Regions from separate parts of the Homo sapiens genome. Here regions 1, 3 and 4 are each linked to region 2. The links are contacts of gene promoters, found by promoter capture Hi-C in human tissues and cell types (Jung and others, 2019). All regions are on one chromosome and are shown on one strand. Each heading gives the region's core, a stretch centred on a gene start or on the middle of the fragment in contact. The rest is flanking DNA. Distances are from core to core; before and after follow the strand shown.

Region 1 (2,700 bases), core at 105-2,604, 150 kb before region 2:
CTCTGCCTCCTGCGCTCTAGAAATGCCCAACTCCTCTCTCCCTCCTTTCCCGCTCCGCAAATGTTCGCCAGGCACCAACTCTGCACCAGGTGCAGGGCTACAGCAGTGAACCAGACAGACGCCAGTCTGCCCTCTCAGAGCTTGCAATCTGCTTCCCTAGTCTGGAATGCCCTTCCCTCCTTCCTCCAAGCAGAGTCTCTGCCCAGCCGTCACACCCAGTGCAGGAGGCATTCAATAAACATTAGGTGAACAGTAAGTGAGCAAATGATTAAATGACTGAAGGCACCACCCGGTGAAGTCTTCCTTGACTCTGACTTAAGTGCCCTCAGCAGGCTCTGTGCACCTCAGTCAGAGTGCCTGCCACCCTCCACGGTGTCCAGGGCTGGGGAGCACTTGAAATGTGCATAATCCAGATTGAGACGTGCTAGGGGTGACCTTGAAGATTTAGTGTGAAAAAGATATGTAACATACCCATTAATATTTTTATACTAAATACATATTGAAATAATGTTGAGTTAAATAATTATTCAAATTAATTTCACCTGTTCCTTGCCTGCTTTACTGGAACTATTAGAACATTTAAAATTACATATGTGGCTTACATTATTTTTCCATTGATCAGAGCTGAGCTAGATTGTAAATACTTAGTTACATTACCATGGGCACACCTGCACCCACAGTCACATGACGATGAGCTCTGTGAGGGTATCTCTGCCCATTTATCTTCCCTCCGTCCCTCCCTCTGTTCCTTCCCCTTTCTTTCCCTCCCTCCCTCCTTCCTTCCCTCCCTCCCTCCCTTCCCCTTTCTTTGCCTCCCTCCTTCCTTCCTTCCCTCCCTCCTTCCTTCCCTCCCTCCCTCCCTCCCTTCGTTCCTCTCTTCCTTACTCTCTACCTCCCTACACTCCTCCTTCTCAATCCTTCCCTTTCATCCCCCTTCTCTCTCCTTCTTCCCACAGACATTGATTGAACATCTGTTCTTGTATCCCTCCATGAAGCTTGGCACAAAGCAGGTGTCCACAATGTTTGCTGAATGAATAAACCAATCCTCAGAATGCATACTGGCCCAGAGGTGACCCTGAGGGCATTTGCCTCCTATTGAATTCCCCATACCTGCTTGTTTGAGTGCAGGTTTCCCATTTCATTTCAAAAGGAGCCAAATTCCAAAGATGTTCTTATGTAACATGGGGCTGGGGTCAGTTTTCTTCTTGCATACGGGGTTCATGTGCGCTCAGGTACTGGGGCCAGGACTCTGTGTACAGGACACCTTGTTCTCAAAGCTCCAGGAGGTTGGCCAGGGCGTGGGCTTGAGCTTGCGGCTTTAGGGTCAAGCTCTCTAGTGAGAGGAGGGCACCAGGCTGAGCTATGTGCTGCCTCACCCACACCTCCGAGGTCCTGGGATGATGAGGGTACACACGGGTCAGGGAGATGCAGGCATCCGAGCCCTGTTTAAAGGTGCAGCTGCGGTAAACTGGGGCCCAGGTGTGAATCACTGCAGGACTGCAGTAAACTGGGGACTGGGTGTGAATCACTGCAGGAATTACATGCCTGCTTCCTGATAAGTCTCCGTCACAGCTGCCACTAACCACGCCCCAACCCTCCAGCCCTCCAGTTTGAGAGGCTGCAAGACACTAGAATGAGCCACAATATCCCAGCCGAGCTGCCTCTTGGAGCTGAGAACGCAGCAAGGAAATTGGCCCAGAGTCTGGCCCTTCATGTCTCCGGTCCTGCTTGCAGCTAAGACAAAGTTGTGGCCCCTACAGTATGGGCCATCAGCCAGCAGGAGCATCCCTGTCCCTTCCCTTCCCACTGTTTCACACCTTCCTAACTTTGCACTGAACCACCAGAGGCTTTCACTGCCCCAGGGCCCCTGCTTGTGCTATTTTGTTCTGCCTAGAACACTCTCCTCTAGCCCAGCCTCCCCATCCTTCTGCATGGCTGGCTCAGTTCTCATCCTTCAGGTCTCTTAAGTGTCACCTCCTCAGAGGGACCCACCTGACTGGCCTTCCTATACACACACTGTCCCTCTGTTCCCTATCAAAGCACCTTGCTTACTCCTTCACAGCATTTAGTCAGACTTTTAAATGGTAGGTTATGTGTATGTGGACTTGTAGTTTCCCCCTATAGTTTATAAACCCTACAAGGACAGGGACCTTTTCTATTTACTTATAAATGAGTCCTGGCACACCACAGGTGCTCAATAAATTTTTGCTCTGCAGGCCGGGCGTGGTTGCTCACACCTGTAATCCCAGCACTTTGGGAGGCCAAGGCGGGTGGATCACTTGAGGTGAATCACTTGAGGTCAGGAATTCAAGACCAGCCTGGCCAACATGGTGAGACCCCATCTCTACTAAAAATACAAAAATTAGTCAGGCATGTTGGTGGGCACCTGTAATCCCAGCTACTCAGGAGGCTGAGGAAGGAGAATTGCTTGAACCCAGGAGGTGGAGGTTGCAGTGAGCTGGGATCGCGTCACTGTGTTCCAGCCTGGGCGACAGAGAGAGACCGTGTCTTAAAAAAAAAAAAAAATAAATAAATAAAATTTTTGCTCTGCAGTGAAGGCAGGCAGACAGGTCCATCTTTATGTGGCAGCGGGATGGGGGTGGGGCAGGGATTTGCAGGGGAGGGGGTTAATGAACTGCCACTTTTGCCTTAAGGAATCCTATCTTCCCCTTTAATATATTCCATAGGCCAGGACATGAC
Region 2 (2,700 bases), core at 95-2,594:
CCAACAGGGCCGCACCCAAGGGAGCAGGCTGGTTCCTGTCTGCATGCATCTGTGCATGTGTGTGTGCATATGTTCAAACGAATATTCGTGTGTTTGGTATGTGCAGGTATATGCTTTTGTTTGTGGAGCTGTAGGGGTGTACGCAGGTGCATTTGGGGATAGTACTGTGGTCTATATATAGATACATGTCGTGTGCGCCTGTGCCTGCGCCTTTGTTCGTGGGAAGGGGGGCTGTGGGCATGTGGTGTGCCTGCCTATATACGTGTGCGTGTCTATGCGTGTGTGCGGGGGGAGGAGACTCCGACCTCAGCGATTTCCCCTTCTTCTTTCCTCCCAAAAATGCAGCTGTGAATCCGTTCCAGAGTCCAAGACCAAACCGTGCCCTCCAATCCTGATTTTCTTTCTTTCTCATCGCTTCCTGCTCCCTCCCCCCATTTCCTTCACTTTTGCAGTGTCTCCGGACAGGTGTCTCAGACCGAACTTCAGCCTAGCGGTCTTGCAGCTGGTGCCGTTGGGAGGGAGCGTGGGTTAGGGCGGAAAACACCGCCTGGGGGCGTAGGTCCCCGCGCAGGGCTGGGAGGGATGGAGAAAGGGAGATTCCTGGGTACAGGAGGGGGTCTCCAGGCCGAGATCACCGGGCGACTGTCGGGGGCAGAGCCCGGCACGCTGAGCTGGGAGGGGGGAGGACAGGCAGAACTGGGAATCCCGCGCTTACCTGGATGGCGTTGGTCACGTTCCAGCCTGCCTCCCACGCCGTGATTTTGGGCTTGTCGTGGCCCCCGAATTCGCCACCACCTCCCACCTGGTCCTTGGAGCCGGAGGGCGGCAGAGGAGCTCCGCTGCCTCGCTGATAATGGATGTCTCCCTCGACGGGCGCTTCAGCGCCCTCGTCCCCGCAGGGCTCTCCCTCGGCTTTCAGGATGTCCATCTGCAGGCCCTGGCGGTGCTCAAAGTCGAGGTCGTCGCAATGCGCGAAGCCCACCGCCTCCTCATCCGTGGCCGCCTGAAAACCCATCCTGGCGAACATGCCGCTCATCTTGGCCTGGGACTTGTTGGACACGGACGTGGCCACGTTGGACAGCTTGCTGCGGAGCAAGGTGGCCATGGCGGCGGTGGGGACAGCGGAAAGGACAGAAGGACCCGAGGATGCGGGGAACGCGATGCAAGAAGGCGAGGGCTGGGGGGCGCAAAGTCGCTATCTCCGCTTGCTCTCCGCGCGGCGCCCCGGGGCTCTCTGGCTCATGACCCTCGCAGCTGGCGTTCGAGGCTCTCTCAGGGCTGGACCGGGCAAGCTGGCAGCAGGTCTGGCGGAGCGGCGGCGGCGGCGGTGGTGGCTAGTGCACTGCGGAGCTGCCGCGGGGCGCGAGCTGGGCTGCGGAGGGCGGCGGCGGCGGCGGCGGCGGCAGCGGCGTCAGAGCAGCTACGCGAAGCTGGCGCGGCGCCCCCACCCGTGCGCAGCCCAATGCGCTCCCGCCCCTCGGAATCAGGCGGTGCGGGGGTGGGGGATTGGAGAGAGGAAATACCCGGAGGCAGGGGACGTGAGGAAGGGGCTAGGAGAAGAGAAAGGGGGCGCCGAGGGATTCAGACGTGAGCTGGGGGCAGAAGAAGGGCGCCCTTGGGAAGGAGGCGGGAGGGAGCGCGTGAAAGAGGGAGCGCCGAGGGCAGGGGAGGTGGGGGGGCGAAGTGCTGCATTTCTAGGGGAGGTGCTAAGCTCGCATCCTGGCCCTTCCCACCTCGCCGCCGCAGGGTGGGAGGGGGCCGGCGTGGGCTGATGCTCGCAGTCTCCCACCCCCGGACCACCCCCTCCAGGGTCCGGGAGCTGTGCAGCCCCAGATCCTCTGGCTAAGGACTGGTCTGGGCGCCCCGAAAGCCCGCAGGACTGAGTTGTCAGTCTCTCGCGGAGCGGGTCGTCTATAAGTCAGTTTCCCTGGCACCCATCCTTCGCGCGTAAACCCGGCCGCGAGTCCCCCTTGAAGGTAGAAGTGGCTGGCATGGATCGCTCCCAAGGAAGCTCAGCCTCAGGCTCAGTCACCCGGGTTCTCTCCGCCCGTCCAGGGACGCCGCGAGGGAAGCGATTGTGCGGATCGCTCGCCACCAGCCGCTCTCCAAATGCGTGCAGAATGGAGGCGAAAGGTTGGCTTTTCTCTTTCTTTTCGTTTGGGGGTCTGGAAGAAGGCAGGACTCTATGAGGACACCTCTCGTCAGCCTCCTAGCGGGTCTGCGAATGCCCACGCCGAGAGGGGCGCAGACGGGGCCAGGCGCGGAGGAAAGAAGGGCTCGCGGCGCTGCAAGGCGGAGGAAGCAGAGGCTCGCGGTGCGCTGGGGCCCTGCTCCGACGGCCGCCTCCAGGCTGTGAAAGCTTGGGCTGTTTGTGTTGATTGGGGTACGGGTGTGTGAGCGCGAGTAAGGGAGAGACCCAGAGACAAAGACCGATGCTGTATCAGACTCTGCTTGAGGTTGGATCAGTGTGGCCTCTGAGAATGAGGTTTGGTAACCGCGTGTGTTCTGTGTCTGTGTGGTTTTGCGCGCATTCCAGTGTGTGTGCCAGAGCTAGTGTGTTGGATTACGTATGTGTTCCCGAATGGGGTTGCCTGCGTTCGTGCCTGTGTTAGTCCCTTTGTAGTAGTCTCCGTGAGGGTCCGCTGCTCTGAATGGGTCCCTGCGTAAGTCCCCAGCTGATGTCCTGGCCGGGCTCCTCCT
Region 3 (2,700 bases), core at 51-2,550, 240 kb before region 2:
ACAGTGTCTTTACTTCTGGCCTCCATGTCCATGTTATTACTGAATTCTTAACAGAAGTGAAAGAAACCCAGTGGGAATTAGCTGAGGTAAAAGGATGAATCTTGTTACTGTAGGATGGCAATAAGGCTCAGAGATGACAGAAACTGGGCACTCAAAGCAGCCATGGCTTTCTCCTTCTCTCATCTTGGCACGTCTTGCAGGTTCCTTCCAGCCCCTTAGGTTGGCTACTGTACAGGAGCTGGAAAGACGGCTGCCGGCAGTGCCAGGGTTCACGCTTACAACTCCTCTACCAATCATTCATCGTGGTCCAGCAAGGACCAGCAAGGATGGACCAAGGGCCCACTCCATGTCACGTACCACTCTAAGCACTAGAAACACTGCAGTGAACAATACAGATGCCAGCCCTACCCTCACGGAGCTCACTTGCTTTTTTAATTCTTCCTCTCAGTGGAAAGTAACTTGGTGCATGAAGTGGTCATAAGTGCTATGGAGAGAAATAAAGACAACGTAAGGGGGACTGGGAGTCCCAGGTATGTGTTGTAATGGGGGGTGGGGGAGGCTCTTTTATACTGGACAGACAGGGACTGACTTCTCCCAGCTTAGGTCCAATCCCCACCCCAATACAATCAACCATGGCCAGTGGAATGGGATGAGGTAAATGACAGTCCCCATTGGAACCATGGAATCGGGAGTGGATAGATGGGAAATGCTATTCTCAGTAACCGCCATGCTGGGCAGATTAAACAAGAGATCTTCACCCCGGCTTCTTGCTAATAACAATGACAAACTGGTGATCATGATGGTGAAGAATAGGGAAGCCATATCCCATCATGAAAACCTGTTGAAGGTTCCATACAGTTTTAGCTCAAACAGAAAAACAACTCAGGAGAAACATAACTTTAAATTTTGTGAGCAGCTTCCATAACTTTTCATGCTGATTTGCTGCTGTAACTCTAGGACAGAACTAGGAGTAATAAGTAAATGACACAGGGTTCAGAATTCAACTCAATGTAAGGAAGATATTTCCAAAAGGTCACACTTTTCAGCACTGGAGTTTGCTGCCTTGTAAATGAATAAAAATCCTCCCTAGATCAAACACATGCTATACAGCCTCCTGCTGGGGCACTACAGTGATAATAACCAATAACCATCATCTCCTAGGTCTTCTGAACTCAGAATCTGTGATGCTAAGTGAAAGCACAGGAGCTTTGTAACAAGAATATTCAGCTCAGTGACTTACTTTTACACTTTTTAGGGTTCTCAGATTGCTTCAACAATCTGATAAAGGCTATGAACTCCCTCTCCTAAAAAACACACCAGAATTTACCAGAATATAAAATTCGGGGGGGTCCGTAGACCCCCTAGAGCTAAGTTTAGAATCACTGCTTTAGATCTCTGACCCTTTTCCATTTACTTCCAGGAACAGAGTTGTGTTTCAGAGGTTCAAGATGGCCAAAAATCAGGTAAGTGGGGCACTGTCATGTTGCTTTTGCCAAAATGTTGACCTTCCTTTCAACAAGACAAAAGATGGAACAGGACCTGGAACAATGCCTGTCCTCAAAGAGACAGGCTTTCTTTCCTTCCCTTCTTGTCACTACATCTTAATAATTCCTTGTAATTGTTACTCAAGAAAACAATGACAAAGAATACCTTATCCTTTTCTGCTGTGTTTTTGTCCTGAATTCCTGCCTTTTCAAATCATGTTTTAAACCTTCATATCCTCTCTGGAATATTTTAACATGTCTTTTGTACTACCGTATTCCTCCCTTGTCTCTAACCTACAGCCCCAATCTATCTCTTCTATTATCAGCTTTTGTTTTTGGAGATGGAGTCTCTGTTGCTCAGGCTGGAGTGCAGTGGCGAGATGCCAGCTCACTGCAACCTCCGCCTTCCAGGTTCAAGCGACTCTCCTGCCTGGGCATCCCGAGTAGCTGGGATTACAGGCACGCACCACCGCACCCAGCTCATTTTGTATTTTTAGTAGAGACAGGGTCACACCATGTTAGCCAGGCTGGTGTCGAACTTCTGACCTCTGGTGATCCACCCACCTCGACCTCCCGAAGTGCTAGGATTATAGGCATGAGCCACCACGCCCAGCTGAGCTCTTTTATAAGAACAGCTATGTCAGTTGATAAACAGTATACCTTCTCCTCATAAAAGACTTCCTTCAACCAAACCAGAACATCAGGGCTGCTTTCCCTCTATAAACACCCCTCTGTGGCTGCCTATGATTGATTTTTCCTTGAGCGTACGCTCTATGCTTAAGGGAGTAACAACTTTATAACTTTTGCAAACTATGAACATCTTCATTTCCCTATCTTAACAAGGCTGATATCCCTAATTCCTCATTCCCTTTAACTTGGTTTTTAAAAATTTTACTGGTGACCCATTAGTGGGTTATGAAATCAATGTAGTATGTCATACCAGCACTTTTTAAATAATGAAATAGAATAGAAAGCATCAGAGCACATTCCAGAAAGCAATACTGTTTATGAACAACTTTTTCTTCAGTTGTGTATGTGTGCTATATCTTACTGTGGGTCAAGTCAAAAAAAGCTTAAAACCTATTGTAAAGTTTTCGTCATGCACATGGTCAACAATCATGAAATATTTATCAAATGAGCAAACGAAAATGGGCAGGCCCTTCGGATCCACGTGTACTTGCAAATTAAGTAAAAGATTTTTGTAGAAAACTCTCAG
Region 4 (2,700 bases), core at 134-2,633, 220 kb before region 2:
CTGTACCTTTCTATGCTTCCTTCCGGGTTCTTCGAGTCAGTACGTTTGAGAGTTAGCTGACACTTGCCATCACCCCACTAATGGTGGTATTTGTACCAGAAGTAGGTTTCAAACAGAGATCATAGAACACAGTCAACTCTGTCTCCTGTAACCAAGATATGGCTAATGCAAAGTCCCCCTGAAAACTGCCTTCAAAGCCTGAGAAGGAAGATTCTTTTGAAAGCCTTCAATGAGGCTGGGCCGGGCGCAGTGGCTCACACCTGTAACCCCAGCACTTTGGTAGGCCGAGGCCAGCGGATCACCTGAGGTCAGGAGTCTGAGACCATCCTGGCCAACGTGGCGAAACACCATCTCTACTAAAAATACAAAAATTAGCCAGTCATGGTGGCATGCCTGTAGTCCCAGCTACTCGGGAGGCTGAGGCACAGGAATCGCTTGAATCTGAGAGGCAGAAGTTGAAATGAGCTAAGATGGCGCCACTGCACTCCAGCCTGAGCAACAGAGCAAGACTCCATCACGAAAAAAAAAAAAAAGAAAGCCTTCAATGAGATAATGTAAATAAAGCACCTATCCAACACCAAGATTATAAAACCTCCTCAACAAATGGAAGCTATCATCGTCATCAATTTCATTTGGAGAGGGTAGTTTTTATATTTTAGAACAGCAAAAGTCCATTTGTAGCTAAGTTTGGTTAATATAGATAAATCCTACTTAGGTTAAAAACAAATTTTTTTAATAAACTTCTTACAAAAGGAAATTCCAAGAAAAAGAGTTCAATTTGTTTTTTCCCACAGCCTCTTTGGTGAAGAAAGTTCAAATTTTGTTCTGAGCAATGAGGGTACTGTTGAAAAAGAAAGGTGTCAAGATTTTCTTGATCTTACTGCCTCATTTTCCACAAGCCTTCACATTTCTACCTTTACCCAGGGCTGACACGTAATTATCACTCAGGGTTGTGTGTTTCTTCAAAAATGGGGTTTTCTTTTTAAAATTCTACAGACACACCTCATGCAAACCATCAGACAATCTACCGCAGAGGCGGCAGAACATACAACCATTGGAGCCACATATGTACAAATGGCACAAATTCTAGAGATTCATGTAAACCGCTCATTATCCCCACCCTCTCTTCAACCTTCCTGCTCTCTACCTTAAGATGCCATTGCCAATGTGACACTTCAAAGGTGGGTCAGAAACATAATCAGTATTTTCTAGACTAAAGCTCTAAATTACAAGGCTTGAAGCAACGTGGAGGATTTGAGTCTAAAGCTGACAGCTCTGGCTCTGCCTTCAACACTAATGGAGATGCCTGCAACTGCCCCTACCTTCAAGTGAGCAGGGCAAGCTGGGTCCAGATCCCTAAGGAACCAGGATTCCAGACTGTGTGTTGCTGTTAACCCCCAGTTCGTCCCCTGCAGACCTGGGCCAAGGCTTGAAATCTAGGACTTGCTGACTGTGTTGTCTCAATACAAGTTCAACTTCTGCATTTTAATCTATGGACTACAGGACAGGGGAAGTGACCCCCACCCAAACTGCCTCTAACAGGAGGCTTTGATAACCAGCTGCTATACACAGATGCACGCATATCAGAATGCATGGCCATACAGGCTCCCATTGAGAGGAAAAGGCTTTTACCTTTACATGACATGCTTCTTCTGAAGAGTTTAGATTAATAAGCCTTGGACGGGTTAGAGACTTACCTGTAGGAGCCTGTTGCCACGCGGATGCCATCAATCAACGTGAACTTTTCGTGAACCTTCCCAATAATCTTAGTTCCTGACCTTGCATAGTAGATATTTCCTGTGATAGTCCGAACTGTCATTAACTGTTGGCAGGGAGTGGGAGAAATATAAATGAACAATTCAGCAATACTCATCTGCTGAGCAAATGGTTAGGACAAAAAGCCTTAGTTTACAATTCCCAGATATAATTATTGGCATATGCGTGGCTTAGGGTCACCATTTAGTGACAGTATACATGGTACACTAGCCAGACAGTTCTCAAGCCTCAAGTGATGTTACTTCTACATTTGGTCCATCTTCTCATCTGTTCTTTTCTTATATTTACTTTTGAGACCCTTAGTTCATGCGTGTATGTGTTCTAAAAGAACACTCAACCTTTTTGGGATACTAAACAACAGAATCCAAGAAATGATTCTGAAGCAAAATGTGTGGGATAAAATCATCAAAGAAAACATGCTAGTAATAAAGAACATTTTAGCAAAGTCTGAAAGAAGGTAAGCTGATCTTCCTCCAACTTGTTTGTTTAATGGCATCACATTAGAGTAACAGTCCATCCTCACTCACCCTCAACACCATAATGGGTATGGAGAATAGGAACACAGGACAGGCCTTCTCTAGTACAGGCCTGCTGAGGCAGAAACACTCATATCACATGTGGCTTAACAAGCAATGTCACATCTCCTACAAATACATAATTACCAAAAACGTACACTGGTAGTGGTATGCTGGGGCAATATACTGCACATGTATGCATAATTATTCCTGTAAAATGACACACATAAATGTATAAACAATGGCATACAAAATACTACAACAATCTGCATTCTCTGGAGCAGACCAGTGGCTCTATATCGTTAGAAATCTTACACATTTAAATTAAACGTGTAAGATTTTTGTTTGACTCATTGATTCCATAAACATAGAGAGCCCCTACTATGTGCCAAGCCGTGAGACAACAGAG

The links. The method cuts DNA at HindIII sites, captures the fragments that hold promoters and counts their contacts. A contact is called where the count stands out against the background at its distance.
Region 1: a contact is called between a fragment that was not itself captured here and the fragment with the promoter of SLC32A1 in region 2, in 1 of the 25 tissues and cell types used here (lymphoblastoid cells).
Region 3: a fragment that was not itself captured here is called in contact with the fragment with the promoter of SLC32A1 in region 2 in 1 of the 25 tissues and cell types used here (dorsolateral prefrontal cortex).
Region 4: a contact is called between a fragment that was not itself captured here and the fragment with the promoter of SLC32A1 in region 2, in 2 of the 25 tissues and cell types used here (dorsolateral prefrontal cortex and mesendoderm cells).

What each region holds. Positions count from the first base shown.
Region 1 is chr20:38,869,753-38,872,452 of GRCh38, reverse strand. The region is part of intron 2 of PPP1R16B (protein phosphatase 1 regulatory subunit 16B); the gene reads right to left. Among named protein-coding and RNA genes, the nearest start is that of FAM83D, 55 kb to the left of the region's middle. RefSeq lists enhancers at 1,114-1,203, 1,224-1,283, 1,412-1,982. The HindIII fragment of the contact is 7,641 bases long and covers 1-2,700 here.
Region 2 is chr20:38,723,130-38,725,829 of GRCh38, reverse strand. It overlaps SLC32A1 (solute carrier family 32 member 1), which reads right to left and starts at 1,344. Exons shown (of 2, transcript NM_080552.3): 1 at 716-1,344. The coding sequence starts at 1,105. The HindIII fragment of the contact is 7,924 bases long and covers 1-2,700 here.
Region 3 is chr20:38,965,787-38,968,486 of GRCh38, reverse strand. The region is part of intron 1 of DHX35 (DEAH-box helicase 35); the gene reads right to left. Among named protein-coding and RNA genes, the nearest start is that of DHX35, 4.8 kb to the right of the region's middle. The HindIII fragment of the contact is 5,080 bases long and covers 1-2,700 here.
Region 4 is chr20:38,946,998-38,949,697 of GRCh38, reverse strand. FAM83D (family with sequence similarity 83 member D) reads right to left here. Exons shown (of 4, transcript NM_030919.3): 3 at 1,698-1,822. Among named protein-coding and RNA genes, the nearest start is that of DHX35, 14 kb to the left of the region's middle. The HindIII fragment of the contact is 4,328 bases long and covers 1-2,700 here.